3 separate regions of the Homo sapiens genome follow, and all the other regions are linked to region 1. Evidence: promoter capture Hi-C in human tissues and cell types (Jung and others, 2019). All regions are on one chromosome and are shown on one strand. Each heading gives the region's core, a stretch centred on a gene start or on the middle of the fragment in contact. The rest is flanking DNA. Distances are from core to core; before and after follow the strand shown. Region 1 holds the start of VCP (valosin containing protein). Region 2 holds the start of CCDC107 (coiled-coil domain containing 107). Region 3 holds the start of FAM219A (family with sequence similarity 219 member A).

Region 1 (2,902 bases), core at 183-2,682:
TGGGGAGGGCTTTCTGCTTCACCATCATTAGGAATGTGACCATTCCTATATAATTCCTGGACTGGTGAGATTGGTGGTAGGCCTGTGAAATTTGCCCTAGTTACTACCATTCTCGTTTTGGAGGAAACAATCTCTGCCACCACCAAGTCATTGACTTTGCTCGAGGCACCTTTTTTCCTGTTTCTCCTTTTCTGTTGTCGAGTAAAATTTCATATTTATCTCGTCTGCCTACTACATATACTTGCGTGGGAAGGCTTGTGACCGTCTAGTTGAGTGCTAGTTGTCTATGATGCCCTTTCCTGACATCGTCTACCTTATGAACTTGAAGTCTGGGTATGAGGAAAGGGCTACAGGAATCCTCACTTTGGAGGCAGTGGCTTTAGTCCTTCACATTGCCTGAATGCAGAGCCCCAAAGCCCAGGACAGTGACAATGAGTGGAGTTGGGTCTGAAGGGTGGTCTAGATAGGCCTCTCAGGACAAGGGCAGGTACCTGTTACTTAGAGACAGGCAGGTTTCTCTCAGAGTAACTCTTCACTCCCTTCCTAATTCCAAATTCTAGAAATTCGACTCGTCTTAGTCAAATGTGTCTGTGTGGGTACAGGGTGAAAGGTGAATTGAGTCAGCATATCACCAACAGCTGCCTGTTGACTACTAACAGGGACCCCTGTTATTTGGGGCCCAAGGATTTTCAAGTCCCAGCATATGCAGTTTTCTTGCTAATTTGGGTTCTACTGAATTGGCTGTGTGTTCTGTGGTTGCCCTTTGACTTCTCTGGATTTGAGTGCCTTATTATAAGGTATTAATATTAATGACGGGAGGAAGAAAGGCACAAGCGCTGAGAAACTGCAAAGGCTGTGGGATTGGGGTTACCAGAGGGTGCAGTGACAATGGGGTAGGAGTGGGGTGCTAGTCAGAAAGTTCAGAGTAGGGGTGGTTGGAGGCAGCGTTGAGAAGGAGCAAGAAGTGTCAGGGTGGTGATGGCGTCTTAGAAGATCTCCAGGTTTTGGGAGAAGATGGGTGTATGGGTTACCACAATAGGACTAGACTAATACAAGGGTTCAGTCTATTGTGCCACGTTCTTCCAGGAGGATAAACTCCGGAGCCAATGAACTGGAGCCAAGTGGGAGAGTCCGCCTCTAAGGGATTAAAGGGTCTCCTTTCACTAATCGATCTCGCCCTATTCCTTTCGTTGATTGGCTGAGAATTCCAATCCGTCGAGGAAGCGTAGCGTTGCGGCCAATTGACGTGGCGTTACTAGGCGTGTCGCATCACTGAGGCGGGAGCCAGGCCGCAAGCGAATTTCCTGATTGGCTGTGATCTGCGGGTTGCTGGGGAGAGGCGCGGAGAGGCGGGCGAGAGTCCGCAGGGCAGGCGCTGATTGGCTGAGGTGGGAGCAGCTTCCCTTCCGATGATTCGGCTCTTCTCGGCTCAGTCTCAGCGAAGCGTCTGCGACCGTCGTTTGAGTCGTCGCTGCCGCTGCCGCTGCCACTGCCACTGCCACCTCGCGGATCAGGAGCCAGCGTTGTTCGCCCGACGCCTCGCTGCCGGTGGGAGGAAGCGAGAGGGAAGCCGCTTGCGGGTTTGTCGCCGCTGCTCGCCCACCGCCTGGAAGAGCCGAGCCCCGGCCCAGTCGGTCGCTTGCCACCGCTCGTAGCCGTTACCCGCGGGCCGCCACAGCCGCCGGCCGGGAGAGGCGCGCGCCATGGCTTCTGGAGCCGAGTGAGTGTGCGCGCGCCGTTCGCTTGCTGCGGCGGCGCGCACCGGGACCAGCCGCGCAGGGTAGGCCCGGCGGGGCCTGGCCGTGGGCGCGTCAGAGAGGTGGAGACCAGGAAAGAGGGAAGGGAAGCTAGGGGGCGAGTGAGGGGCCGTGGACCCGGCAGGCCCGGCTGGGGCCAGCTGCGCACCCGCGCGCCCCCTAGGCGGGGCTTGCGTTGGGTCCGGGTCGGAGCCTGGGCCGGATCGTGCTGTGTCATGCAGGCCCCGGCCCGCCCGATTGGCTCCCTTAGAACGGACGTCTGGGCCTGGCCAGGTCTTCCGGCCCACTCCGCCGGCGCGGCGCCCCGGGGCTTTGGGGCGCCAGTCTGCCGTCCGGCCTACCACCCGCCGAAAGCCTTTGGTCCCCGGAGAGAGCAGGCCCCGCGAGCCCGAGGCCCCAGCCGGGCCCGGTGGGCGTGGACTTTGCGCCATGTGAAGGCCTCAGGAGCTCTGCCACCGAGGCGGAGCCCGGGGTCGGGGAAGGCCCGCCGAGCTCAGGGAAGCTCACAGCCGCCTTTTTGGAGCCGGGTCGGCGGGGCCGGAGGTGGGCATCCTCTGTGTGTGACCTGAGTCGTGAAGGACTGTTAGGGAGAGGGCGAGCCCTACCTTTCGCTTCTGGTCTTCTTACTTTAGGCCTGTTGTTCATACTAGAAAGTTTGAGCCAGTTTTCCTTAATGTTATGACTCGTGGGTGGGGAGAAAGGAATTTTTCTTTAACATTTTAGGTTCTTGCTAAAGTTGGAATCTCAGTTCGTGTTTTGTGCGCCTTTCCAGATTTCCAGGTTTCGTGGTGTGCAGTTTAGAGTTGCACTAACTCTTCAAAAACACAAACGTGCGCGCACTCCTTTCCCCAACCAGCTATATTGAGAAATTACCCGGGCTCTGGGGCTTTCTGACCCCACCTCCATCCTTAGGAAAGCGTTAGATAAAACTTGGCTACCTCAGCCCATTCAATTTAGAATAGAGAGCTTTTAGAGGCAAAAAAAAAAAAAAAAAAAAAAAAAAAAACACAGCCAGCCCAAGGAAACTCTATGCAAATTACCTTCCTTCCTTGAAGAGATTAGTTTTTTGAGGTGTGTTCCTTTTTCTCAAGTTTCTGAATTCGGATAAAGTATTACTCAGTTGCTTATTTAAAAGAGTCACTTAT
Region 2 (2,700 bases), core at 122-2,621, 590 kb before region 1:
TTACAGTCAGTGCTCATTGACGGTGGTTTTCTCTGGTTGTTTCCTGAACACGTAGTGCTCTTAAAGCAATGCCCTGAGGAGAATACAATTCTCCAGGGGCATTCTGATTGGCAGGTGAAGCACAGTGCCATGTTCCCAGCACTGATTTGGGAAGTGGCTTGTCACATCCCACAGTGAACTCAGTCAACTGGAATGCCTAACTCTCTTTCATAAGACCTCCTGCTACATTATGTTTCTCCCAGACTGTACTCAGGTCCAAGAACAGAATTTACTAGTCTATCCTTCTCAAAGTTCATCATTAAATTCAGTCATTCATCCTAGCCTGTCACATCTACCTGGGGTCATTATTAGCTATCTCTTCTAGTTTCATATATCTAAACTGGTTCCATCGGTTCTATTTTATAATGCAAGTACGTAATAGGGTCACGGCTAAAGACACAGCCCTGGAAGGTACTGTTTTTCAAAATGTACTGTCAACTTACATTTCAGGGCCTCCTCCCAAGGAGAACATGAGACCACTTCATATCTGGAACTCTAGAAACACTGGCTGCAGCAATCAACCTCCTGTGCCAAGGCTGGCCCCACTCTTGTAGCATGGACACTGCTAGCTGGGTTCAAATCCCAGCTCCAGCAGTTGCCAGCGCTGGGTGACCTCGAGCAAGTGACTACTCCTCACTGGATTGTAGGAGAACTAAATGTGATAGTCATTATTTACAGTTCACCACACGCTCTTCACATCCGTTACCTCCCTGGATCCTCAAAATAACCTCATAATATTGGAAGGCCAACGGACTACTGTCTTTATTTTACAGACAGGGAAGCTGTGTCTTGTTCTTGGTACCCTGGCACCCCCATGGGAGATTCGGGCTCAGGGGATCCCCACGCCCGGCGGTCCCGCACCTGCAGGGGCACCCCTACCCCCGGCCGCCCCGTACCTGCAAACACTTGTACAGCACAAAAGCCGCGACGGCCGCGGTGTACAGCGCCCCCAGAGGCAGCGACCCGGCCCGGGTCCGCTCGCGTTGATCCTTGAGCGGTGGTCGCCGCCGGGGTTCCGTGGCTCCAGAGCCGGGGTGGGCTGCGTTCCCTGCGGAGGGAGGATACAGGCGAGTCAGCCGAGCTGGGGCCTGGGACCCGTGCGCAGTCCCAGCCCTCCTCCAGCAGCCCTAGCTGGTACCTGGGTGTGCCCGGAGGTCGGGATTGGCGCGGTCTCCTAGGACCCCGGACAGCGCAGACACAAGCAGCAGCCCCACCACACCCAAGAGCGAAACTGCGCCCGCCATTGCCGGCCCACGGGTGGAGGGATCGGGCGGGCGGTGCCGAAGCGGTCCGGCATTGGCCGGCCGCCCCAACGCGCACGCGCACGCGAGCAGGCCGGCCGGCTCCGGGGAGGCCACGCCCACTCCCCGTAGGGCGGGGCCAGACCATATTTGCATAAGATAGTGTCATTCTAGCTTTCCTGTATTTGTTCATTTCGTGTCTATTAGCTATTCTGCTAGCCACAATGCCTCTGAAAGCCTATAGTCTTAGAAAGTTATGCCCGAAAACGGTTTTTTTAATCTCACGCCACCAACTTTCTCACCCTAATCATAAAACACAATTTCTTTAGGGCTATAAAATACTACTCTGTGAAGCTGAGGACGTGGTTCGTGCTGAAGGCCTGTATCCTAGGCTACACACTGAGGACTCTGTTCCTCCCCTTTCCGCCTAGGGGAAAGTCCCCGGACCTCGGGCAGAGAGTGCCACGTGCATACGCACGTAGACATTCCCCGCTTCCCACTCCAAAGTCCGCCAAGAAGCGTATCCCGCTGAGCGGCGTGGCGCGGGGGCGTCATCCGTCAGCTCCCTCTAGTTACGCAGGCAGTGCGTGTCCGCGCACCAACCACACGGGGCTCATTCTCAGCGCGGCTGTTTTTTGTTCCCGAGACCACGGCTCACTGCAGCCTCGACCTCCCCGGGCTCACGCGATGCCTCACCTCAGGCTCCCAAGTAGTTGGGACCGCAGGCGCACGCCATCATGCCTGGCTAATTTTTGTATTTTTTGTAGAGACGGATTTTCACCTGTTGCCCAGGCTGGTCTCGAACGCCTGGTGTCAAGCGATCAGTCCACCTCGCCCTCCCAAAGTGCTGGGATTACAGGCGTGACACCGCGCCCGGTCAACGCGGCTGCTTTTCATGCGCGGGCAGCTTTACGCTGTTCTTGGCCTTGCTATGAAGTCCTTGTGCTCATTACTCCAAATATGGAGCATTCCTGAAACAGCCTCCTCTTCTACCTCCCTCTCCCTTTGGCAAACGCCATAGTAGCCACCATTCACTGTGTAGCTGGTACACAACATATGGACTCTGCTTGGGCTAGAATCCTGCCTCCTGTACTCAAGAGCGGTGACCTTGTGAAACTTAGTTCTCTCTCCGTGCCTTCCTTTCCACTCTGAGGAATGAAGATAAGCACTTACTTCAAGAGCTATGATGATTAAATGGGATCACTCAAGTTAGAACCGTGCCTACTTATTAGTGATTTTTTTTTTTTTGGAACGGCGGGTCGCTCTCTTGCCCAGGCTGGTCTTAAACTCCTGGGATCCTCCCGCTTCAGCCTCCCGGGTAGTTGACATTACAGGCACGTGCCACCCCGACGGACTCTAGTGATTTTTTAACTTGAGCAGCTACTACTGTAAGCCAGACAGTTGAAATTACACTGACTCT
Region 3 (2,700 bases), core at 34-2,533, 610 kb after region 1:
TTAGTTCTCTTGCACACCCTCTGTGGGCTCCCAAACAGCAAGAGCTGTGTTCCCACCTAGCCTGGAGCTAGGCACACAGCAAAGGGTTGGATAAAGAATGCCTTTGAGGCTGGGCGCCGTGGCTCACGCCTGTAATCCCAGCACTTCGGAAGGTCAAGGTAGGAGGATCGCTTGAGCTCAGGAGTTAGAGACGGGCCTGGGCAACATGGGGAAACCCCGTCTCTACCAAAAACACAAAATTTAGCCGGGCGTGGTGGCCTATGCCTTTGGTTCCAGCTATTCGTCAGGCTGAAGTGGGAGAATCGCTTGCACCCAGGAGGCAGAGGTTACAGAGAGCTGAGATGGCGCCACTGCATTCTAGCCTGGGCTACAGGGCGAGCCTCTGTCTCAAAAAAAAAAAAAGAAAGAAAGAAAGAAAAAGAAAAAGAAAAATTCCTTTGGGACAAGAATGTGAGAACAAGGAGGAAGGGACTCGTGGGAATGGGGATGGGGAAGTTAAGGAGAATAGACTGGTCAGAATGAGTCCATGGGGTAAAGTGAAGTGAAGAGATGGGAATGGTGGATAAAAGGAGAGAGGTAAGAAACGGTGGATTGGGGTAGTATGGGAGAGGAGGCCGGGATTAGTGGGAAAGAGTAGGACAGAGTCAGAGGTCAGTGGGAGCACTTACCAGAGGTCACGGGGGTGAGAAGGCTGGGGTCAACAGAGAAAAGATCAAGGATCAGTAGGAGAGGTATGATTAGTGGTCACTGGCGACGACGAAGGTCAGAGGTCATCAGAAGGAAGGTGTGCGTACGTTACCTGCTTATGAGGCTGTTTATGGGGAGCCTTCGCAGAAGCAGGAATCATCTCAACCCCTGGAGAGCCTACAAAACGCTCCCTCGTCTGAAGACAAAAAGTTTGTCCGTCTCCTTGACCACACACAAGAAATCTGGACTCTCTTCCACTTCAGTTACCAGTCGCAACGGTTCTTTAGGGACAGCCGTCGTTGTGGGTCCCCGTGCCCTTGCAGGATAGAATCCAACTCCCTGACGCGGTTACCCAGCAACCGACCAGCAGCCAAGGCGCAGGCGCTTCGGCGCGCCCAGCCGGCCCGGAAAGGAGGCGGGGTTGGGCGCGCGGCGAGCGAGTCTCCACTAAGCCCCGCCCCCTCAGGAATCACAGCTGGGCGGCCGCGCGCATTCGGAACTCCCGCATGTGGGTGGGGCTGGGGTCCCCAGGCACCGCCTCCTCATGAATAATGCAAGATCCGGGCGGTGTCCCGGACCCGGAAGTGGAGTTGCCGAGTCACCGCAGTGGCTGAGCTGCTGACAGGAGGCGGCAGCGGAGTAGGAGGCGAGGCAAGACCTGCGGCTCGGCCCGGCCACAGCCGCGGTAGTGCTAGGCAAGCCCACGGAGTCACGCCGGCCTCAGCCAGTCTGCGAACCTCTCGCCCCCGCCCACCCCTGCATCCGCCCGGCCCCTGCCCGCCCGAGTGGTCCGGGGAGGCCTAGTCTGCACCACCCGCCGGGCTCCTGGGGCCGCCGCCCCGCGCGGTCCTGTCGGCGTCCGCGGCCGCGCCCGGCCCCTGGCCCGCTCGCCCGCCGGCACCATGATGGAGGAGATCGACCGGTTCCAGGTGCCCACCGCGCACTCGGAGATGCAGCCGCTGGTGAGGGGGCGGGCGGCGGGCAGGCCAAGGCCGGAGGGGGCGTCGCTTGAGGGGGAGGGAGGGAATCAGGCCGGGGGGATCGTGCGGAGGGGCGCCATCGGATGGGGCAAAGAGATCCCTGAAAACGTATTGCCGGGGGACGGGGACTTGCAGGACAAGAAAACCGTGGGAGAATATGCTGGATGAGAGCAAAGGGACCTGTAAGGGCGGAGGGCACCGTCGGTGGAAGCAGGGCACCGTCGGATGGAACGGAGGGGGCACAAAGGTGCACACCGCTAGTGGAGGCCCATAGCAGGGACTGGCGAGGGAACTGCCATGGGGCACCGCCGGCGGCAGGCCCAGGGGTCTGGGATGGGAGGTGGGGAGGCGTTTAGTCCTAGAGGCCTGTGATGCTTAGGGCGGGGGAGCCGTCAGGCTAAGAGAGATTGGGAATCAGCTTTTAGAAGAGGAGGGGCTTGCCCGCCTGTCCGCTGGATATACGGACAGGAACGCTGGGCCGGGGCGAGGGACCCAGTGGGGGAAGGTGGTTGGTGCAGAACCTGGGAATTCCGTTCTCCGGTGGGGAGCGCAGGCAGACCAGGCTGGGGGCATCTAAACCGGGAAGGAGAGTGCGCGGCGACCAGATGGGGAATCGGGGTGCAGATGAGAGTGCTCGGGAACCGACGGGAGAGGAAGTGGGGTCGCGCTGGAGCTGCCTGTGCGCACTGGTTGGGAAGAGCCCCCATCATCTTAGGCCTACGTGCCTGAAGTCCTTGCTGGGCGCGGATCCTGCCGCCTGTCCGCGGTCCCGGAGTCAGGGAGGAATGATGTCATCGCTGCTGGCGCGGAGGGAATGGAAGGGGGAGGGCAACTCGGGTGCACCGAGGCTAGGCCTAAGGGAGACCATGCTTGCTGGCCACCGCCCAGGGGGCTCCCTGACCTCGCTTGTCTGTCAGGCAACCGGGTGGGAGACGTGGAGGCCTAGCCAGCTCGTATAGTGAGGGGGGAAGAGAGGGAATGTCTAGGCTGTGTTCGCTTTATCCCCCTGGAGCCTGAGCTGGAATTGGAAGGA

Evidence for each region. The method cuts DNA at HindIII sites, captures the fragments that hold promoters and counts their contacts. A contact is called where the count stands out against the background at its distance.
Region 2: the fragment with the promoter of CCDC107 here is called in contact with the fragment with the promoter of VCP in region 1 in 1 of the 25 tissues and cell types used here (neural progenitor cells).
Region 3: the fragment with the promoter of FAM219A here is called in contact with the fragment with the promoter of VCP in region 1 in 1 of the 25 tissues and cell types used here (spleen).

What each region holds. Positions count from the first base shown.
Region 1 is chr9:35,071,155-35,074,056 of GRCh38, reverse strand. It overlaps VCP (valosin containing protein), which reads left to right and starts at 1,432. Exons shown (of 17, transcript NM_007126.5): 1 at 1,432-1,720. The coding sequence starts at 1,704. It overlaps FANCG (FA complementation group G), which reads left to right. Exons shown (of 14, transcript NM_004629.2): 14 at 1-218. RefSeq lists enhancers at 865-914, 935-1,074, 1,275-1,324 and a silencer at 1,725-2,354. The HindIII fragment of the contact is 21,663 bases long and covers 1-2,902 here.
Region 2 is chr9:35,656,963-35,659,662 of GRCh38, reverse strand. CCDC107 (coiled-coil domain containing 107) reads right to left here and starts at 1,371. Exons shown (of 5, transcript NM_174923.3): 1 at 1,178-1,371; 2 at 936-1,087. The coding sequence starts at 1,283. It overlaps ARHGEF39 (Rho guanine nucleotide exchange factor 39), which reads left to right. Exons shown (of 9, transcript NM_032818.3): 9 at 1-320. It also overlaps RMRP. RefSeq lists a silencer at 1,249-1,508 and enhancers at 1,591-2,098, 2,099-2,607. The HindIII fragment of the contact is 10,595 bases long and covers 1-2,700 here.
Region 3 is chr9:34,457,153-34,459,852 of GRCh38, reverse strand. FAM219A (family with sequence similarity 219 member A) reads left to right here and starts at 1,283. Exons shown (of 6, transcript NM_001184940.2): 1 at 1,283-1,649. The coding sequence starts at 1,590. DNAI1 (dynein axonemal intermediate chain 1) reads right to left here and starts at 1,048. Exons shown (of 20, transcript NM_012144.4): 1 at 800-1,048. The coding sequence starts at 847. RefSeq lists enhancers at 922-991, 1,088-1,382, 945-1,485, 2,617-2,700 and a silencer at 1,362-1,611. The HindIII fragment of the contact is 10,660 bases long and covers 1-2,700 here.